Regions from separate parts of the Homo sapiens genome. Here region 2 is linked to region 1. The links are contacts of gene promoters, found by promoter capture Hi-C in human tissues and cell types (Jung and others, 2019). All regions are on one chromosome and are shown on one strand. Each heading gives the region's core, a stretch centred on a gene start or on the middle of the fragment in contact. The rest is flanking DNA. Distances are from core to core; before and after follow the strand shown.

Region 1 (3,880 bases), core at 369-2,868:
CTCCGAAACACAAGTTTTGTAGTCATTTCTACCAATATTCAGCCAGCACTGCTTCTTCTTTTGCTGAAACTGTTGGTTCCACACTCTGGTCCGAACTTAATAGGAAAGACTCACCATAAAAGATAATTAAGAATGGCTAATACACAGTGTGTTGAAATTTGATTTCCTTAAGTTTAATTCCAGAGTTCTGATACACATTAGCATTTAGAGTGCCTAGAATTACAGTGTAGAAGGTGACTAAGTACATTTAAAGATTGTTCCTTTTTGTTGTTATATTACAAAAGATTATAGTTGAGGCAGATCTTGAAATTGCATCTCATCAGCCCAGCAGGTGGTGTGACTCCCATAGGAGAACAGGAAAGGACATGTCCCATAAGGAGGCAACTCAGTCTCTGCTAGCTCACAAGCGTGGTCTCAGTGACCTACTCGAAAGCTATTCTGCTTGTATCATCAGTTCAGCCTCACCTTGGAAAACTCAAGCCCAGTTTTCCCAAATGATTTTTAGAGAATAAGATTTCCAGATGAAAACCAGGGAGCATGTTCCAATTTTTAGTACATCAAGGACCATGTTTTTCCTTGCTACCAGCCCCATTTTCTAATCAGTTAACGCTTCCTGTGATATCTGTAGGGGAAAGGTGTAGTGCAACTGACAGGGAGAGATGAGATCTTAAGCCTCTGCTCATTCATTGGGTGCTGAGTAGCAATGCCTCCCGCGGGCCACAGGAACTTATCTCCGCCGATTGTTACAGCTGGAAGGATGGGGAGATAGCACCATAGATCCACTCCTCATTTTATGGGCAAAGAAGCTAAGGCCTGTAAAAATGGCATGCCCAATGGTACAGGAGTTACAAACACGGTCATAAATATTGGCTCCAAATTTGGCATGGAAGCTTATGTGCTGCTCTAGAGGAGATCTGCTACGATGTGGAGATTGGCTTGTGTGGGTGTGTTTTATTGCTCTTGTCATTTAAAAATACTTTTGATTATTTGTCTTCCATTTTTTTTAGGTTACGAGGAAATCCTTCAAAATGCGTTCTTGTGAAAAACGTGAGAGTGCAAGGAAAGAGGGAGGGATAGGAAGAAGGAAAGAGAAGCAAAAGGTAGGAAGAAAGTGACCTTGGTGCCCTTTTCTAGTCCCCTCCCCCGACTTTCCTGTTCTCCACTGTGCCCATCTCTGGTTTCACCAGGCTCCATTCCTTCCCCAGTTCCCTGTTTCTCACGGCCCTGAAACCAGCCGACAGGGATTTGCATTTTGAAAAACCTTGCGTGGCTGCCGGCGCTGGGCATGCTCAAACGCCCAGAACTGGCTTTTTTCGGCAACTTTGGCAGCTCTCCCACCCCCACCCGAAGGGGCAGGTACGCACAGCTCCCTCCGTGTGAGTAAACGGAAAGAAATTACCCCACTCCCGCCCAGGGCAGAAGGCCACAGCCCCGCGGGGCAGTGGCGCGCCCCGGGGACGCTGCCAGGGGGCGCCAGGCCCTCAGTGGTGGCGCGGCGCCGGGGTCCGGGGCCGGGGGGCGCTGTCCGAGGGCACGTGCGCGGGCGCGCGCTCTGGGAGTGGTCGCGGGGTGGTGGGAGGGGCGGGCAGGGGCGGGGCCGCGGCGGCGCGCGGAGGCCGAGCTCGGCTGGGCTTGGCGAGGCTGCGGCGCGGCCACCGGCGGGAGTGCAGCGGCCACTGTACCCAGAGATTCAAAACCCCAAACCCGGGACTTGGGGGCGCTGAGCCGGGCCGGGAAGCAGAGCCTGGTCGTGAGGAACAGCCGCCCGTTGCTGTCTGCCCCTTTGCGGACAGCGTCTCCCTCGACTCCGCTTAGGAAGTGGTGGGGGCGGCGTGGCCCCCGTCGGGAGGCGTTCGAACGCCCGCTAGGAGAGAGAAAGGATTCCCCTGTGCTTGGAGCCCGCACTCGGGCGCGGAGGGAGCGGCGGCAGGCTCTCGCTTTCGGCACCATGGGCTGCACGCTGAGCGCCGAGGACAAGGCGGCGGTGGAGCGGAGTAAGATGATCGACCGCAACCTCCGTGAGGACGGCGAGAAGGCGGCGCGCGAGGTCAAGCTGCTGCTGCTCGGTAAGGGCGGCCGGGTCGGGGCCCGGGGGTCGGCGGGGGACCGGGTGCGGCGCTGCGCGGCCCTCGGCGTTTGGAAACCCGGAGGGAAGGGGGAGGAAGCGCCCGAGGAGGCTTCTGAGCGGGAGCTGGGTCCGGCGGTGCGGAGGCAAGGCGGGTCCCCCTCTCCCGGTGTCTGGTCTCTCTCCGCCCCGGCGGGCGAGGACTCCCCGCGGCGGGGCGGGCGCGTCACTTCACTCGGATGCTTTCGTGCGACCCAGCAAAGAGCCCAGGCGCGAGTCCGAGGCGGCGGGTCGCGTGGAAACCCTTTGCTTTGAAGTTTAGCTCAGCCTTGTAAAGATGAAGGGGCATTCGCGGCTAGAAAATGAAAACACCCCCCCCCCCGCGCCACCAACCCCCTCCCGGAAAACCCTTCTTCGTGTGCGGTGTAGGTTGTGTTTCGACTGTGGTTTTCTCATGCCCAGAGTGCCACGTTTGGTGAAATCAGTGCACCTTTTGTGGGGCCTCTGAGATGGGGCTGAAGCGTCTTTCCTGTTAACTTCCTATGGCGACTCCTTAAGTGGTCAAGGAGCGCTGATTACATTCCCCCTGCGCTGAGAAAAGGCTGCGCTGGATGCTTGATTTTTCTTGCTGTGGGGGCATGGAAGCCACCCAAGTGGGGTTGGGAAGCTTTGCTTTAGTAGTAGGCAAGGCAGATACTCGAGTGGTGAAAACTGCTGTGAAAGAGCGAGAGGGTCACGCCAGACAACAGGGTTCTGTCTCCGCTGCCACCGTTTCTGATGAATGAGATTTGCCAGGTACACGCAAGGCTTTTATTTGTTCTTAGCACTGTTCTGTTCGTGAAACGCTACGTGGAGGTCTTTTCCAAATGTTTGACGGGGAAGAAAATAAAGAGTAAACCAGGGTTTTCACTGAGGGAAGCATTAGGAAAATCTTTACAGGTTAAGATTCGTGAGTTAGGGTTTTCTTTTGTTTGCATGTTTTCTTCTCACACTCTAGGTATTTAGATAGATGAAAAATTTCTCAGAATCTTCATTTGCATTTCCAAGGACTGCTTGTATTTTTATACCAGTTATAATAAAAAAGAAATGTTGCACAAACCTGTTTTCAGTAAGCTTCTGTTTCATTGGTTTAATGACTGCAGAAAAAATGGTGGGTTTTTTTTCTCCATTACTAGTAGGCTTGGGAGCAGCAAAGTTGGCATGACTAAAAGTAATAATGATCTGAGTCATTTTGCAAGTAAACTGTGAAATAACTTTGCATTTTAAAGACCTGGGTGGCTTTTTTCACCCTGTCGCCCCCAACATAAATCTTTCTCAGTTAATGTTGTTTGCCTAAGTTTTTACATTAATAAGAAATACTGTGTTTTGATGAGGTTAGTGTATGTACTTCTCTTGTGAATTGAATGTGAGATAGATATGAAATAAGAGGATTAAGAAGTTTTTTTCTTGCAGTTTTTGCTCTCCTGGTGTGATACGTTGTTTCAGTGTATTTCTGTGTGACTCTTAGTTTGAGCCAGCCATCCACCATGTTTAAAGCAATTGAAAAATGAATCATCTGGTGGTGGTGTTTTGTCCTTTAATTAGGTGACTGTTAGGGATGGACTAGAATAAAGGTCCCAGGAGTAGGCTTTTGCTTATGTTCAGAAGAGATCAGTGTGTCTTGATCTTAGCACGGTTGGCATTTGGGGCTGGGTAATTCTTTGTTCTCCAGGTTGTTTTTGTGCATTGTAGGATGTTCAGCAGCATCTTTGGCCTCCGCTCATTGGATGCTAGTAGCAGCCCCCTAACCTGTGAGCTCCAAAAGTGTTTCCACAT
Region 2 (3,880 bases), core at 953-3,452, 35 kb after region 1:
TCACCTGGAGTAGTAGCTCCCATCCTGCCAGACCCGATGCTCACTTTTGTAATATAATTTTAATGCCCCCTATAATATTCCGAAACAAAATTTGTAGATAATAGTAACCTATTTTCATATATTTACTAAAAACCACTATAATATGCCCATCTGCAATATATTAGAGAAATAAAAGTAATTTATCCCGTTTTTCAGTATGTAAATGCTCAGCCACAACTGTGTCTTTATAAAAGTTGGATGCTTGTTTCCTTATATAGAATCATTTATAGTTCACTGTACATGCAAACTGCAATAGATGTGCCATTGAGAATATGGCATGCAGAAATGGTGTTCAACTTTACTGAAATTTCCAAATGACAAGGATTACAGTCTTCTCTCTTTTATGCAGTAGTTGCATTGCTGGAAAAAGTCAACACATATCAAAATCATGCAAAAAAAGTCTTTGTGTTTATGTGGAAAATTGAATTAGGTAGTAGATTCAGATATTATAAAGTTACGATTTTTCACCAACAAAATATAGGTCATTAGCAAATTGTGCAGGACATGGAAAGTACTCTGTTGATGGGATTCTTCTGTATATCACAGTAGTATACCCAACCACACCAATGACCAAAAATGTTCCCACAAATTCCCATTAAACTGTTCCTGGGCTAGCGCTATCCTTTTTGAGAATCATTGCCCTTAGCTGACTCCATGAGAACTTCAACTTGCAACTTGAAGCCCTAGGTGCTGCCTCAGACTAGAGAATATACAAGAAATGGCATTTGACAGGTGCTCTAGAAATCTCTAGTCATGTACTTAACCCTCTTTTTACTCATTTACTCGGTTTTTAAAAGATTACTGTGAAATGTATTAGAAACAAGCCCCCCCATGCATACAAAGGCCATAACTAGAACATCTGATTCACTTAAAAATTCCGACAAAATATACATAATATTCACCATTTTAATTATTTTATTTATTTATTTATTTATTTTTGAGACAGAGTCTCACTTTGTCACCTAGGCTGGAGTGCAGTGGCACGATCTCGGCTCACTGCAAGCTCCGCCTCCTGGGTTCACACCATTCTCCTGCCTCAGCCTCCCGAGTAGCTGGGACTACAGGTGCCCGCCACCACGCCCGGCTAATTTTTGTATTTTTAGTAGAGTCAGGGTTTCACCGTGTTAGCCAGGATGGTCTCGATCTGACCTTGTGATCTGCCTGCCTTGGCCTCCCAAAGTGCTGGGATTACAGGCGTGAGCCACCGCGCCTGGCCAATTATTTTTAAGTGTACAGTTCAGTGGCATTAAGTACAGTCACATTGTTGTTCACCATCACCAGTGTCCATCTCTGGGACTTCTACATCATCCCAAATTAAAACTCTTTACCAATTAAATAATAAATCCCCATTGCTTCTTCATTCCCAGCTCCTGACAACCACTATCCTACGTTTCTAAAAATTTACCCTACTGGTTTGACTAAAAATATTTTATTACAGGTTTTTCTTTTTGATGATGTTAGGTTGACTGTCTTTTTATGTTACAGGACCTATATATTGCCTCTGTTGCCAGAAACTTACGCTTCATTTTGTTTCTTTAATGTTGCTTGTTCTGTCCCTTAAATGTAACTAATAATATTCTAATTACTCTTCTTTCTGTACTTCTGTCCCTGATTCTTTTGATTTTGTCATAAACTATGATTTTCCCCTTTAAAATGTTCTTAGATTTAAAATAGGGGGTAAGAACTGTGTCTTGACAGATGACAATTGTAGTTAGATTCCGTAGTCTACACGTGGCTTTTGCGGTGGTTTTCCATCCACTTGCCTCTGCTCTCTTTAATAAAGTTCTGTTGTGACTGTTAAAAGGCCTAAAACCTTTTAACGTTTGCAAGTTGGAGACTTATAGGCTAAAATTTCCTCCTGAGGGAATCCTTTTGTATTTCTAGTATCATTTTAAAGTAATAGACATGTATCATTTTCTCATATCAAACACCACCCCTATCTATTAGGTAAAATCTTTGGACTTCTATTTTATATAAAATCAGTAGTCTTTCAGCAAATTGTGTATTCAGAAATGCTACACAATAGAAGAGGAGGTGGAATGAAGGTTCCATTTAGGAACAGTTTGCTCTTAGCAAGTAACCAGGTGTTAGTGTTTCAGGATGACTTCATGGAAGGGAAGTCATTGAAATGTCTATAATCAGGTTTTTAAGTGTCATTCCCAAATTATCTTGTTGATTATTGATTACCAAATTTTATTAACTTTTAAAGACAGTTTTATTGAGATATAATTCACCAAAAATCATTAAAGTATATTTCCATAATTTTCAAGTTTAGGCATAATGTCGTGCAGCCATTACCATAATCAATTTTGGAATATTTATATTACCACCAAAAATTTCATGACCTTTACCAGTCACTTCTCATTTCCCACAAAACCCACACCCTTACTCAACCACTGGTCTACGTTCTGTCTCTATAGATTTGACATTTCTGGACATTTCGTATAAATGGAATCATATAATACGATCTTTGGATTCTTTCACTGAGCATAATAATGTTCATAAGGTTCCTCTACATTGTCACATGTATCAGTACTTTGTTCTTTTTCATAGCTGAGTAATTCCATTGTACAGACGGGCTACATTGTTTACCTCTTTATCCGTTGATGGACAGTTGTCTTGTTTCCACCATTTTGCTATTATGATGCTGCTATAAACATTCATGTACAACTTTTTGCCTGTGAGTATATTTCATTTTTGTTGTGTATGTATGTAGGATTGAGTGTTTAACCTTTTGAATAAATGCCAGAGTGTTTTCCAAAGTGGTTGTACCATTTACATTCCTAGCAAGCAGTGTATGAAGATTCCATAATTCTTCTACATTTCAGCAATACTTGGATTGTCTACCTTTTTATTATGGCCATCCTAGTGGGTGTGAAGTAGTACCTTTATTGTGGTTTTGATTTCCATTTCCCTGATGACTAATGTTATTGATCATCTTTTCATGTTTATTAACCTCTCTGAAAACTCAAGTGTACAAAATCCCTAATGGAGGCCTTATTAGTCCATTCCTGCACTGCTATCAAGAAATACCTGAGACTGGGTAGTTTATAAAGAAAAGAGTTTTAATTGGCTCACAGTTCTGCAGGCAGTACAAGAAGCATGGCTGGGAGGCATCAGGAAACTTTCAGTTATGGTAGAACACGAAGGGGAAGCAGGTATGTCTTGCATGACTGGAGTAGGAGGAAGAGAGAGGCGGGAGGTGATATATACTTGTAAGAAACCAGATCTCAGATAACTCACTCACTATCACCAGAACAGCACCAAAGGGGAAATCTACCCCCATGATGCAGTCACCTTCCACCAGCTCCACTTCCAACATTAGGGATTACAATTTGTCATGAGATTTGGCTGGGGACACAGACCCAAACCATATTAGAAACTCTAACCTGGCAGTTTGCTCCATTAGTGATGATGGATCAAAGGGACATAGTGTATTTCATTAATTCTAAGATAGACATTTTTCACATTTGACATCACTAAAATCAGTGCATTTTACAGTAAATATATTATGGCTTTAGTAAAGACAGTTTGGAAAAGAAAATTCAGTTTACAGTTGAGGTTCATTACTTCTGGTTCTCTTAGTCCTAGAGCAACTGATTCAACTAGAAACTAAAGTATATTGTTAAATTAGGACCAAATAGTTCCTTCTCTTACAGCTCATCAGATTAAAATTATGATGTGATGCCTGTTTACCTACGTACGCCTTTTCTGATTAGTATTTACTTGCCAATTTATAGGCAATGATAAATTTGATGTATTTATCCTCATTAAAAAATCCTTGTAAAAAATTTATTAATTTATTGGGTGTTTCCTCAAGATTTTTTTCTATGTTCTTCTT

The links. Contacts are between HindIII fragments. The study calls those that stand out against the background at their distance.
Region 2: a contact is called between a fragment that was not itself captured here and the fragment with the promoter of GNAI1 in region 1, in 1 of the 25 tissues and cell types used here (liver).

What each region holds. Positions count from the first base shown.
Region 1 is chr7:80,133,213-80,137,092 of GRCh38, forward strand. GNAI1 (G protein subunit alpha i1) reads left to right here and starts at 1,619. Exons shown (of 8, transcript NM_002069.6): 1 at 1,619-2,066. The coding sequence starts at 1,949. The HindIII fragment of the contact is 3,503 bases long and covers 1-1,811 here.
Region 2 is chr7:80,167,428-80,171,307 of GRCh38, forward strand. All of the region lies in intron 1 of GNAI1 (G protein subunit alpha i1), which reads left to right. Among named protein-coding and RNA genes, the nearest start is that of GNAI1, 35 kb to the left of the region's middle. The HindIII fragment of the contact is 9,772 bases long and covers 1-3,880 here.